Linked DNA regions of Homo sapiens: all the other regions are linked to region 1. Evidence: promoter capture Hi-C in 16 types of primary human blood cells and fetal thymus (Javierre and others, 2016). All regions are on one chromosome and are shown on one strand. Each heading gives the region's core, a stretch centred on a gene start or on the middle of the fragment in contact. The rest is flanking DNA. Distances are from core to core; before and after follow the strand shown.

Region 1 (2,623 bases), core at 36-2,535:
TGGCCAGGCTGATCTTGAACTCTCGACCTCAGGTGATCCACCACCTCGGCTTCTCAAAGTGCTGGGATTACAGGCGTGAGCCGCTGTGCCTGGCTGGAAAGTCACTTCTTATCTTTGAGCCTAAAGACAAATTTTCTTGTGTGTAAAACCGGATCATAATATCTGCATCCTGGGTGGCTGTGGGAATAAAATGAGATCAGGCAAGGATCTGCTTCCGGGCAGGTGCTCAGGAAATGACAGCTGTTATGATTTTTGAGCATAGCAGAGGACAGAGGGTCACGTTCAACAGTTGCCAGTGTGGGTGATGCAGTCTGTCCTCAGTGGGGTCCTGCCCTCAGGAGTCACTAGCTGAGATCCTTCGCCCAATGAGAAGGGCTCGGAGTGCCCCCTGTACATCGCGATTCCAGAGGCTGTAGATGATGGGGTTCAGCATGGGGGTGACTACAGTGTACATGACAGTGGCCACACGGCCCCACTCTGCCTCGCGTCGGGATGTGGCCTGGAAGTAGACTGCAATGACTGTCCCATAGAAGAGGCTCACCACAGCCAGGTGGGAGCCACAGGTGGACACAGCCCGGAGCCTCCCAGAGGCTGAGGGCAGCTGGAGCACGGCAGCTGCGATGGCCCCATAGGAGGCGAGGATGAGCAGGAAGGGAGTGACCACCACTGCGGCGCCCTCGGTGAAGATGAGCAGCTGGATGTGGTGGGTGTCAGAGCACGAGAGCCTTAAGAGAGGCTGGTGGTCACAGAAGAAGTGGGGCACTTGGTGGGAAGCACAGAAGGACAAGCGAGCCATGAGCAGGATATACAGGAGGGAGTGGACGTGGGACACCAGCCATGCCATTCCCACCAGGGCTGCGCACATGGCCCGGGACATCCTCGTGGCATAGGGGAGGGGGTGCCGGATGGCCACGTAGCAGTCATAGGCCATGGCCGCCAGAAGACAGCTATCAGTTACCCCCAGGGCAAAGAAGAAGTACATTTGGGTCAGGCAGCCAGCCAGCGAGATGGAGTGGTCATGGGCCAACAAGTTGGCCAACATCTTGGGCACAGTGACGGAGGCGAAGCAGAGGTCAGCAAAGGACAGGTGGGCCAGCAGGAAGTACATGGGTGCATGAAGGGCTGGACTGGCCTGGATGGCAGCCACAATGAGTCCATTACCCAGGAGGCTGGCCACATACAAGAGCAAGAACAGCACAAAGAGAGGCCGCTGCTGTCCAGGACTTGTTGTCAGTCCCAATAAAACGAATGAGATTCCCTCTGAAGACTCATTGGCAGCCTCCATGGCAGGCTGGTTATTCGCCTGGAACCTGAAGGGCTCCTTTCTATTGATGGGTCACCTCCCCGATGTCTAACGGAAAAGGTGAGGGGATAAATTGTTCAAGGCTTCCTGGCCATGGGAAAATATCAAGAGTTTAGAGTCAGGTAGCCCTGGCCCTAGGCACAGGTATGACTATGGGCAAGTCATTTCACCTCCCTGAACCTTCTTCCTTTCTGGGCCTTAGATTTTCTTTTCTTTTTTTTTTTTTTTTTTTGAGATGGAGTCTTGCTCTGTCGCCCAGGCTGGAGTGCAGTGGCACGATCTCAGCTCACTGCAAGCTCCACCTCCTGGGTTCACGCCATTCTCCTGCCTCAGCCTCCCGAGTAGCTGGGACTACAGGCGCCCGCCATCACGCCCGGCTAATTTTTTTTGTATTTTTTAGTAGAGACGGGGTTTCACCGTGTTAGCCAGGATGTTCTCGATCTCCTGACCTTGTGGGGCCTTAGACTTTCAACCTGCGAAATAAGAGAATTGAAGTAACTCATCTGCAAGGTCACGTCCAACTTTGATAGTTTGTGATTTAAGCAAAAATAGAACAAAAGATATTGCACAAGATGTAGATCAGGGAAGGAGGAAAATATGAAAGAAAAGATGAAACAGAGTGAGGTTCGACACAGAAAGATCTGGCCAATGGACATTTATTTTGGAAAAGAAAAAATGAAACCAAACCAAGATGGAGGAGAGAAACATAAGAAAGAAACTCTAGAAAAAAAATCTGAAGAGCACATATGTTTACATTGAAATGAATATGAACTCACAACACCTAGACACAAATAGTGGAATTTTAGAACACTGGAAATGAAGAGGAGACTCCAGTACTTCCTAAGGGCATGGGGTGCAATGAACTGATGATATCCATGTAATTAGATTGCCATCAAATGTTTCAATTCAACAGTAGATTATAGAACAGTTTAACAATATTCAAATTCTGAAAAAAAGCATTTCGAACTTGGAATTCTTCACTCAGCAAAAATACTACTCAAGTGTGAGTAAAGAATACAGATATTTTCAGACTTAAAACACAAAACAAGGCCGGGTGCAGTGGCTCGTGCCTGTAATCCCAGCACTTTGGGAGGCCAAGGTAGGAGGATCACCTGAGGTCAGGAGTTTGAGACCAGCCTGGCCAATGTGGTGAAACCCCATCTCTACTAAAAAAAAAAATACAAAAATTAGCCAGGTGTGGTGTCACGTGCCTGTAATCCCAGCTACTTGGGAGGCTGGGGCAGGAGAATATCTTGAACCCAGGAGGCAGAGGTTGCAGTGAGCCAAGATCGTGCCACTGCACTCCAGCCTGGGTGGCAC
Region 2 (2,623 bases), core at 44-2,543, 660 kb after region 1:
CCGCTTCTGCACCTGGTGCTGACCCCACATCCGGAAGCATTTTGGATGCTTCCAGCAGAACCCCCACGTGTTCTGCAAAAGTTACTTGCCAACCAACTTTTGCCTCAGATTCTCTAATGAAAAATAAGACTTTTTTTTGCATTTTTTTCAATAGCTGAGGCAAAACCCACTAACGTTTTGGTGGCCAAGTAATTGGAATTCCCCTCTGGTGGGTAAGGTATGAGCATGGCTGCAGATTGGTGTTTATATGATACTTCAACCCACATGTTGCTTCCTAGGTTCCTTCTGCAAAGGAAGCTGGGCCTTGCATAAATAATAATATTGTGCACTGTGCTAAGTGCTTTACATGTTTCACCTCCTTCAATGCCCAGAGTCCTTTGAACGAGGTACTACAGGTCATATTCATTTTACAGATGAAGGAAGTTAAAGTTTAGCGAGAGGTTAAGAAGCCCCAGTCTCATATATAAGAAGTGGTAGATACAGGATACAAGTAAAGATTGTCTGGTTCCAATGGCCACACTCCTATTCTTCAAAGCCATGCGTGGTTCTCAGCTTTGAGTGCACATTGGAATCACCTGAGAGGCCTTTAAATCCTGATGTTTGGATCCTACCCGCAGAGATTCTGTTGTAATTGGTGTGTAGTGTGGCCTGGGCTTGGAATTTTTGAAAGCACTCCCAGCCTATTCCGATGTGAAGCCAAGGTGTAGAACGACATACTGATTTTAGACATGAGGAAGCAAGTACAGGAGGCTACCTGCTAGTAAGTAGTAAGTGGCTAAGCTGAGATTTAAACCCAGATACATCTGATTCCAAAGCCCCTACTCTCAAAATAAATGGGTGTATATGGAGATCCTAGTAAAATGATTTTGATTCAGTAGGTCTGCGGTAGGTCCTGAGATTTCTAATAAGCTGTTTCTTGGTGCTAAGGGCACTGGTCCATAGATCACACAGGTAATGAGGGAATAAACCATACCGTCTTTCTGAGAAGGATCTATGACTAATTTACCTGCTGCAACTTCTAGCACTGTTCACTCCCCAAATGTTAATTCACCTCTTTAGAACCAGAGCAACGCGTCTTGAACTGTTAATGGTTTCAAATTCAATTCTAGGATGTAACTTTTGCCCAAGTTGGACAGCAGTTCTTGCCTCCCCCCTCCCCACCTTGCTTTGAATTCCTTGAACAAAGAAACTGACTTTTGGCTTTCCTGTACTCGCGATGGGATTACACGACATCATAGCCTTCTAGGACAGAAGAGTCTAAGTAATTAAATATAATAATTTCTTAAGTCTCTCACAACAAGTGCCTGTCTCAATTTCAGTAGGTAAAAGGTCACAGAACAATTGGAAAGCAGTTAGTGGGAAGGATTCCTGAACAGGACTTCAAATAATAGAAAATCTTCCTGGTGGTTTGGCTTGAGAATAATGAGATGAATTCCTTATATCCCCAAAGGAAATTTATCTGACTCCTTTCCTCTGCCAAGCCTGTTCCTGTCTTCCCTATCTGAGTTAATGGTGTCTCCATCCTCCCAGTGTCAAATAACCTGAGATGCATCTTTGACTCTTCGGTTTACTCCAAGTTCCAATCCAACATCAAGTCCTGTTGAGTTTCTTCTGTAATCGCTCTCATTTGCTACTTCCTGTTTTATCTCACTGTCACTTTCCTAGGCTGTTTTTGTTCCCCTTGCCTGGATTATTAAATGACTTCCTAAGTGGTCTCCCATTGCCATCTCCCTCTCCAGTCCATCCTCAAGTTTGCTCCACGTGCCTCTGCTACTCAGAAGCCTTCAGGGGCTCACGAATGGCTGCTAACTAAAGCCCAAATCCTTACTGGCATTCTGACACTCCATAACCTGGCCCTAGCCTAGCCCATTTCCCCATCATTATCTTACTTCTTCTTATGTAGCCTATACTCTACAGCATGCTATTCATCAAGAATTTTTAGATCTTCACGAATGCTATCCCCTTGCCAGGAAACAGTCCTTCCCCGTAGCTGCCTCTTGAAAGTCTACCCATCTCTAAAGGCAAACACGAATGGTGTCTTTCCCAGGAAGTATCCCCTTCCTACAGCCAAAAATGGTCTTTCCTGCCCCTTTGTTCCCGTGACACAATGTAGTATGATGGTTGGGCATGAGGGCTCTAGAGTTGGGCTGTCTGGATTTGAATCCAGGCTCTGGTCATTTAATGGCTGTGTGACCCTAGAGAAGATACTTAACCTTTCTGTACCTTATAGTCCTCATCTGTAAAATAGAAGGGGAAGGAGATGACAGTAATAGTACCTGCCTTCTGGGATGGCTATGAGTATATAGTGAGTTACACACACAAAATGCATAGTAGAGGGTTGATAAATGGTAGCATTGTTATAAGACTGTATTTGAGTAACACCTGTCGTGACCCTGGCTGTGTCTTACCTCTCCTGTTCTCAGTGCTGCAAGAGTTGGACTTCTATCTTATTTCTATTTCTATATCCTAGTGCCCAGTATATGACAAACATCCAGGAAATGATTAACTGTACACGAAGTTTACCTTTCCAGAGGACTTCCAAACCCTTTACGTGCTGTAAAACCACAAACAAAAAATTACTTGTAGGTAGAAATGCGAGTAACTCTTTGAGGTTACATTGCCA
Region 3 (2,623 bases), core at 62-2,561, 630 kb after region 1:
CACCATGAAGGCCAAATCCAAACCCAGTGTTCCCATAAGGTCCACTTGTGGCTGGTGGCTCATGTGACTATCTGGCTCCCCTGTTGAACTAAATACCCCCTACTCAGGGCAAGAAGCAAACCCAGCAGAAACGGTGCCCCAAAGGAACTTTCTGAACATGGCTCTTGGGAACAGGGTCTTGGGAACGAGACCCTCTGTCTTCTTCTTCCTTTGACCCCATCCTCCTCCATTTCTTCGGATACCATGACAAAGGGCACAGGTTCTGAAGTTAGACAGACCCTGAGGGTAAGTCAGAGTTGGCAAATGGATAGGAGAGCATCAGATCCAGAAGAGGGGTGGCATTCAAAGCGTGGGCAGAGGCCAGAGGCATGGATCCTTAAGCCCCACTCTGGAAACCTTGTAGAGCAGAGCACGTATGAAGGAGAACAGCAGAAAAGAAATGGATCAGGTGGACAAGGGGCAGGTGGTGGAGAACTTTGACTCTTGCCAAAATTACCACGGTGGCTGCCACTCATTGAATGTTTATTATGTGCCAGGCATTGTGCTCCTCTTTTATTTAATCCTGAGAGCAGCTCTGTGGCTCCATTTTACAGATAAGAAAACTGAGGCTCAGAGAAGTTAAAGTAACTTTCCCAAGGTTATCCAGCTAGGAAGCAGTCCAGCTCTGGAACCTGTATGTTCAGCTGCCAACATCAGGGGAGGAGACAGCCTAGGTGCAGCCACAGGACCAGGGACACTGAGACCTCTGGGAGAGAAAGAAGATTGAGTGCACCTTTTAGGTCATGCACGCTAGGTATGTGTATCTTGAAACGCCATGGCTCAAGTAAAGGGAGAGGTTGGAATAAATAACTTCTCAGGTTCCTTCTAACTATAGTTCCTGTAATTCCTTGTTCTCTAGACTGAGAGCTGGATGCCCACTGAGCACACAGCACCATGCCCACAACTCAGTGTCTTGCACACAGTAGGTACTCTTGTGTTGCTTAATGACATACCTAACCGTAACCCTGACACTGACCCTGATCCTAAACCTAACCCCATATGTACTGGCTAATGACTACTGAGCACTTACTCCATGTCAAGCACTTTACAGCCATTCTCTCACCAAAGCCTCATGCCAATGCCCATCTCACAGATGCTCGAAGAGGTCGCGGGGCACTTTTAACCCTCACCCTGCCTTGCAGGCAGGGCGAGTTGCCCTAACAATGCCAGCCCCAAGAGGCAAAGTGTGGAGTGACAAGGGAAGGAAGTAGCTACTTAGAATCAAGCTGCTCTTCTGAGGGTCACAGGAGAAGTAGGGGAGAGCCAGGCATGTTCGGGGAGAGCCAGGCAGGTTCGGGAAATGCCACCACGAGACTGGCAGAGGCTTAGCTTTAGCATAACCAGCCATTGTGTGAGAGCTAAGGCTTAAGGCTGAGGGCTTTTTGCCTACAGCCTTAATTGGGGTGAAGAGCCCATGGCAAAGTCCAGGCCTCCCATCATAACTAATTCGGGAGGAGTGATTTGCAAGGTTCTCAAGCTGCAGCTAGACTGGCAGCTCTTTGAAGGGAGAGATGATGTCCTCTTAACTCTGGTCTCCCTGGGTCCAGCCAGCGTCTGACATACAGTAGGAGCTTAGGAAATATTTCTTAATGTCATTGCCTTAACTCCCCTAAGCACATACTTCACCCTGCACTGTGATGTCAGTATCATTATCCCTGTTTGACAATAACTCTTTAACGAGTACCCACTGTATGCCAGACAATGTGCTAGGGCCCTGCCCTCATGTTGCTCACAGCTTGGGAAGACGAGCTGAACACTCACGATCCAAGCCCTGGGAGGAGGTCATGGCTGCTGTGATATGCCACAGGGAGACCTTACCTAGTGTGGGAATTCAGGGAAGGGGCTCCCAGCTTCAGGACGTTGAGCTGAGAACTGAAGTACGGGAAGGAGTTATTTGGGTGAAGTAAGAGGGTTAAAGTATTCCAGGCAGAGAGAATGGCAGGAAAAAGTGTGGTCTCTTTGAGAAACAGAAAGAAAGCAAGTATCGCAAGAGGGGAGAGAGAAAAACCGAGAAGGGTGGGTAGCCTAGGATGAGGCTGGGACATGAGCAGGAGCCAGAGAATGTCACTGTTTCTGAGAATTTGAAACCTTATCTTGAGGGTATAGGGAGCACTCAAGGGGCGGGGCGGGAGGGAGGCAATCAGATTCACACTTTAAAAGATGTAAGCGGCCGGGCATGGTGGCTCACGCCTGTAATCCCAAGTTAAGGAGGGAAGGTTGCTTGAGGCCAGGAGTTCTAGATGAGCCTGGGCAACATGGCAACACCCATCTCTACAAGAAACTTAAAAAAAAAAAAAAAATTAACCAGGAGTGGTGGCGCATTCCTGTAGTTCCAGCTACTTAGGAGGCCAGATCACTTGGCAGGAGGATCGCTTGAGCCCAGGAGTTCAAAGTTACAGTGAGCTATGATCATACCACTGCACTCCAGCCTGGGCAACAGAGCAAGACTCTGTCTCAAAAAAAAAAAAAAAAAAAAAAAAAAGATGGAAGTGACTGCAGAATGGAGAATGACCTCAAGGGCGCCAAGTGGGGATCTCCGGAGTCAGGTCATCAAGGGGAAAGATGATGGAGGGCTGGAACAGGG
Region 4 (2,623 bases), core at 85-2,584, 600 kb after region 1:
GTGGGATGTCCCCAAAGGAAAGCTATGTTCTAATTTTATCATTTCCATCTGTCTGGTTATGTCAAGTTAATTCAGAAAGAGAAGAGACAGTGACCAACCCTGAGAGGCCTAATAGGGCAGAGATGGAGGCCTGCCCAGACTAGGAGGCAGCGGGGATAGACAGGGAATGGGGAGAAGAAAGACCCCCATTGGTTTGGAAATCAAGGAGAGGGCGGTGACATATTGGACCAGAAGAGGCACTAGCCATTTTAAGGAGAGGAAAGAGAAAACTCTGGGGTCAGGGAGAGACCCTACCCCCACCTAATTATCCAGCATATATGTAAGAAACATAGCAGCGATGGTATTCGATCTGTGCCATGACTCTTCTGAATGTTTGGACAGGTTAGAGTTGGGGACCCCTGTTGGCCACTTGTTGACCTCTCATAGTGGTGCTTGGGCCAGGTCTTCTCAATGGAAGGGGAATCCCTTATAGGGGAGAGGGAACAGAGCCCAGTGAAATGGCAGTCAGAATGTTAACCCTGGATCCATCTCTAAGTAGAGAGAGGGTGCCCATTGCCTAGGTGAGTGTGCCAAGCTCAGGATTCCAACTGGTGCCTCTGAGCTTCCCAATCAATACTTCCTGGAGCCAGCCCCACCCACCCCTGAGAACAGAGGTCAGACACAGCTGCGTAACATCCATCCTGCTACAACTCTTCCACCCCAAACAAAAGGGCTCAGGCTACACACGACCATGATTTATGTTTTCAGGGGATGCCCATTTGTCCCAAGCTTATCCTGTAATTCTAGAATTACCTGGTGTCCTGATGCATTTTCCACTAGAGGTTGCTAATCAGCATGTTTTAGCCCAAGTCCGCCTTCCTGCTGTGGTTAACCTGTTATGTTGCTTTTGGAAGGAGACTCTAAGACAGGGAAAGCAAGTTCATGGTACATACGCAGCCATTGTCTCTGTTTTTACCCATGGCAGACATTGCTAATCAATGGCAGCTCTATTTCACTGAGTCTGGATAAGGTTTCAGAGTTCAAATGCTTGACGTTGGCACTTAACATGAAAGCCTATAGGTCATTCTTGCTCTGGGATCTACAGGCAGGGTAGGCACAGGTGCAGCCTAAGAAGGGAACCTGCTTCCTCTCCCTTCCAAAGACAGTGACAGCTGACTGAGGGCAAAGAGCAGGCACCACTCAGAACGTGGTGAGTACAGCTCAGCTCAGCACTCAGTCAGTGGTAACTTGTGCCCAGCCCTGTGCTAGGCGCTGACATTAACAGGAGCAACCAGGGCCCAATTCCTGGCCTTGGAGCTCAAATCTTTCCTTTGATTTTTGCTCCTGATCATCAAGGCCCCAGTGGCAACCATGTGGTAAGTGGCCAACCAAGCCCTACCCAGGGTCACCCAACACACTCTGCCTTGAGCCTCTCCTCAGGGTCTATTCCTTGCGTGGATTATGTGGCCGTAGCATGTTACAGTTCAAACATGTCTCCACTACCCTGTTAAGAGCAGCCTGGGAACGTACAGGCCATCAAGACTATTTATTTAAATACAAAAAAAGGGGAAAACACACACACGGAAAAAAAATTGTAAGCACTTTTTTTGTAAAACCAATGTCTGTTTTGTTACATACCTTTCATGTCGTGCTTTGTAAATGTCTTATTTGTGTAATAAAGTTAATGCAAGTAGAAGTGCTGGCACTGAAATCCAGAACATGATGGGATTCCATTTCTTTCCTGCTCTCTGGTGAAGGGCTTAGGTCCCTGGCTCCCAGAATATGTGGGCTGCTGGACAGTGTAATCCTCCTTCCTGGGAAACGGGTACCATTTCCCAGTTAGTAAACAATGGATTGTGGAGGCCTGACGATGGGTTTCTTCTGTAAGTACTCAGTCACACCTGCTTCTTATCTAAGCTTTGGAGGAAATCAGGCTGCTTGATGCCCTCTGTTCCAGTCTCTGAACATACACTCTCTGCTGGGCCCTGTGCTGGCTCTGCACACTGAGAAAAGGCTCCCAGCCAGACCTTGTCCTGGAGGAGCTCTCAGTCTGGCAAATACTGTGGGAGCCAAGGGGGTGGGTGTTAAAGCTGGATCCTATCAGATGAGAAGGTCACAGAATAGGTAAGCAAGAGGGTGGGGCAGGGAGGGAGGTGCAGAGGAGCGTGTTTGGAAGATGGGGAAGAATTTAATAAGGTGAAGTTAAGGGAATATGGAACGGGCAGCAGGGCCCCAGGTTCTGCACAAGACTGGGTCTTATAGTGGTTTTGTCAGGCTCCAGAGCCACCACCTCATAACCTGAGGAGTGAGAGAGCGCATCTTTTTGGTGGTTGTCAAATTTCTTTCAGCAGCAGAGTCATTTGCTCAAGCCAAAGCTCCTGGTGTGGAGAGCACAGCTGCCCTGCAGAATGCAGAGGCTTCCCTGGCCTGCTGTGGCCCTGCACAGAAATGAGTTGCTCAGAAACCTCAGCTCATGGTGCACATGAGTCACTGACTGCAGGGCCCCTCTCTCTATTCTACTAGTTTTTAAATCTCCCATCCCTGATTCCATTTCTGCTCCTCATACATCTGCTCTTCCAATCCATTTTCAAGTGTTTAGATATATGTGTATCTTTGAAAATATATGAGTTTAGTTGTGTGTTTC
Region 5 (2,623 bases), core at 64-2,563, 570 kb after region 1:
GCAAACTGAGACTATAACTATTGGGAATCTATGGCTGCAGAAGTGTGTGTGATGTGTCTGCCTATAAATGCCTATCAATAGTTGTCTCACCATCTGTAAGGATGTAAGTACATATTTGAGGGTGCCTGAGTAGAGGACATAAGGTTATACATGGGTTTGGAGCTCTGTGAAAATCTGTGCCCTCTTGAGTATGGCTGTGTGTACAAATGGAAGAACAATTGTGTGTGGGGGGGTGTTTACATCTGTAAATGAGGGCAATTATGGAGGTGATGACATGTGTGATGTGGTGAGGGTAGGCTGTCATGGTGTCTGTAGGGCTGGATCTATGTCTGAGTGTGCTTATTTGTTTTTAGATGATGTATGTTTACATGTGTCTCTTTAGGCTCAGTTTGTGTGTGGAGAAGGGGGCTGAGACTCTAAGTGTCCACTTGTGTATGCTGCAGGGCGTTAGTGTGTGTAAGGCTCCATCTTTGGGTTTGAAGGTTCTGTGTCTGTGTGTCTGGGGGCAGTGTCTTCTGTCTAAATGCCTGGGCCTTCCTGCCTTCCCTACCATTCTCATTGTCAGTAGAACCCTAGAGAAGAAGGGATGGGCATTGGACTGTGTGGTTAAGCAAATCCTGAAGGGAAGGGGAATGTGCCAAGCAATCCCTTCCAAGAGAATTCAGGGAAACTACCCTCCCGTTTCACCTCAGTCCCTGGGAGCTGGTGCACTGTCTGGTTCTTATAGAGCAGAGGTATCTGTGCAGGTGTGTGAGAGTAAGTGTGGTGCCTCGTGCCCGTGTAAATGATGTGAACAGGTAATCACTTACATTAGTGTGTACACAAATGTACCAGGCATGGGATTGCATCAACACAGTGTAATAACGTGTGACCTCCTACGGAATCTATCTCCGCAGATGGTATGGCCATGGGTCCCTCCTGTACCTGTGAGTGGGGCAGTGTCTGAGGAAGATGGGTGCCCCTTGAGGGAGGAGCGGTAGTGAGAGCTGGGTGGATGTGTGCCCGCCGGTGCCTTTGTGTACTGGCGTGTCTCCGAGTCTCTCTGTCGGCAGCTCTGAGTTTCTGTGTGTCTCTGTGTCTGTGTGTGTGTCTCTCTCTCTGGGTCTCTGCCTCGTCGTGTGTGTCTTGCTCTCCCTTGGCGGGGAGGGGATTGGTCACGCATGACTCATCTTGAACCGAGCGGGGCTCCAGCGGCAGGGCGGCCGCCGTTGCAGCTGGAGGGGGAGGAGGACAAGGAGGAGGGAGAGGAGGAGGAGGACTACCAAGAGGGGGAGGAGGAGAAGAAGGAGGGGGCGGGGGCCTCTCCAAGTTTGTCGGGACCTTCTTCCGAGGCAGCGGCGGCAGCAGCCAGGGAGGCCGGGGCTGCGCGCGGGCCGGGGGCGGGGGCTGAGGCCGGGCCCGGGGCGGCGGGGCCGGCGCCTCGGCTCTCCTCCTGCTCCTGCAGCAGCCTCTGCTCCCACTGCGGCTGTGGTCCCCCTCGGCGCAGCTCTCCGCGCTGCGCGCCCGCTGAGCCCGAGGTTCCCCGGCCCATGTACTGGAAGCATGAGAACGCCGCCCCGGCGTTGCCCGAGGGCTGCCGGCTGCCGGCCGAGGGCGGCCCCGCCACCGACCAGGTGAGCCGGCGAACGACTGGGTGAGCGGCCCGGGCCGGGGTCGGGCAGGGTCCGGGACCCAGCCGGGCCGAGCAGGGTGGCGGGCGGTTGCAGGAAGGAGGGGTACGAGGGTGCGCCTGTGAGTGTGTGCTTGTGAGTGTGGGAGCGCGCGCGCGAGCGGGGGGGGGGGGTCGCGGAAAGCGGGAACACATTATGCAAATGTTGGAGGAATTTCTCAAAAAGCGATTTAGTAAAGACACAGGCGAATCAAGAGGAGGCGAGGCCGGTATTGTCCGTCTGAATAGGCGCTGATAGCGCCGATGCGCCGGGGGTTGTGCCGGCGCAGCGCTGAGAATCCCGACGCGGGGCCGGTACCCGGCGCGCCGAGGGGCTGGAGGGTGCTTTTTCCTCCCCTTGAGCGCCTCTCTTTTCTCTTTTTGGTCCCGTTTCGCCCCGATCTCGCTCTCTTTTTGCTCCGGGTTTCCCTCCGACTGGCCCTCGAAAGGCGCCTGAATCCGTGTCAATATAGCTGCTTCAATTTCGCCGCGCGTGTCAGGCGGGCGGGCGGGCGGGTGCTCACCGCGCTCGGGGTTTTCTTTTCTTCAACCACCCTCCGCCCCTCACCCATCTCTTTTTTATTTTCTTTCTTTCTCTCTTTTCTCCTTTTTGCATTTTGTGCCGAGAGGAGAAGGGAGCGAGGAAGGGGAGTGGGGTGGGGGGGCGGGTGGAGAGAGAAAAAATTCGATTTTTAATTACTACCATTAAAAAATCAAATTTGCAATTCTTTGGGCGGCCTGATGGATCTCACTGATTGACAGTTGGAATTGACACTCTGGCTACCTCTTATCTTGGGCATTCACGACAATTTCTAATTGCAGGTAGTTTGTGTGTGTGTGCGCGTGTTTTTCTTCCCCCCTCAGAGGCTTGGATTGCAAGGGAACTAAGCGATTACTTCAAGAGCCACGGGTTAAGTGCAGGGAGAGGGGGAGAGAGAGGGAAAAAATCCAATCCAAATTCAAATTGCTTCATTA

The links. The method cuts DNA at HindIII sites, captures the fragments that hold promoters and counts their contacts. A CHiCAGO score of 5 or more calls a contact.
Region 2: a contact is called between a fragment that was not itself captured here and the fragment with the promoter of OR1K1 in region 1, in 2 of 17 cell types (non-activated CD4 T cells and activated CD4 T cells). The highest score is 6.2, in non-activated CD4 T cells.
Region 3: a contact is called between a fragment that was not itself captured here and the fragment with the promoter of OR1K1 in region 1, in 2 of 17 cell types (total CD8 T cells and M1 macrophages). The highest score is 5.4, in total CD8 T cells.
Region 4: a contact is called between a fragment that was not itself captured here and the fragment with the promoter of OR1K1 in region 1, in 1 of 17 cell types (erythroblasts). The highest score is 5.1, in erythroblasts.
Region 5: a contact is called between the fragment with the promoter of LHX6 here and the fragment with the promoter of OR1K1 in region 1, in 8 of 17 cell types (naive CD8 T cells, naive CD4 T cells, erythroblasts and 5 more). The highest score is 8.8, in naive CD8 T cells.

The regions. Positions count from the first base shown.
Region 1 is chr9:122,798,785-122,801,407 of GRCh38, reverse strand. OR1K1 (olfactory receptor family 1 subfamily K member 1) reads right to left here and starts at 1,285. Exons shown (of 1, transcript NM_080859.1): 1 at 335-1,285. The coding sequence starts at 1,285. The coding sequence ends at 335. The HindIII fragment of the contact is 11,918 bases long and covers 1-2,623 here.
Region 2 is chr9:122,140,442-122,143,064 of GRCh38, reverse strand. It overlaps a transcript of NDUFA8 not described here. Among named protein-coding and RNA genes, the nearest start is that of NDUFA8, 18 kb to the left of the region's middle. The HindIII fragment of the contact is 6,633 bases long and covers 1-2,623 here.
Region 3 is chr9:122,171,845-122,174,467 of GRCh38, reverse strand. All of the region lies in intron 3 of MORN5 (MORN repeat containing 5), which reads right to left. Among named protein-coding and RNA genes, the nearest start is that of MORN5, 13 kb to the right of the region's middle. The HindIII fragment of the contact is 3,137 bases long and covers 1-2,623 here.
Region 4 is chr9:122,201,653-122,204,275 of GRCh38, reverse strand. LHX6 (LIM homeobox 6) reads left to right here. Exons shown (of 10, transcript NM_014368.5): 10 at 1-1,694. Among named protein-coding and RNA genes, the nearest start is that of LHX6, 26 kb to the left of the region's middle. The HindIII fragment of the contact is 1,128 bases long and covers 771-1,898 here.
Region 5 is chr9:122,227,647-122,230,269 of GRCh38, reverse strand. LHX6 (LIM homeobox 6) reads left to right here and starts at 1,313. Exons shown (of 10, transcript NM_014368.5): 1 at 1,313-1,613. The coding sequence starts at 1,530. The HindIII fragment of the contact is 4,848 bases long and covers 1-2,623 here.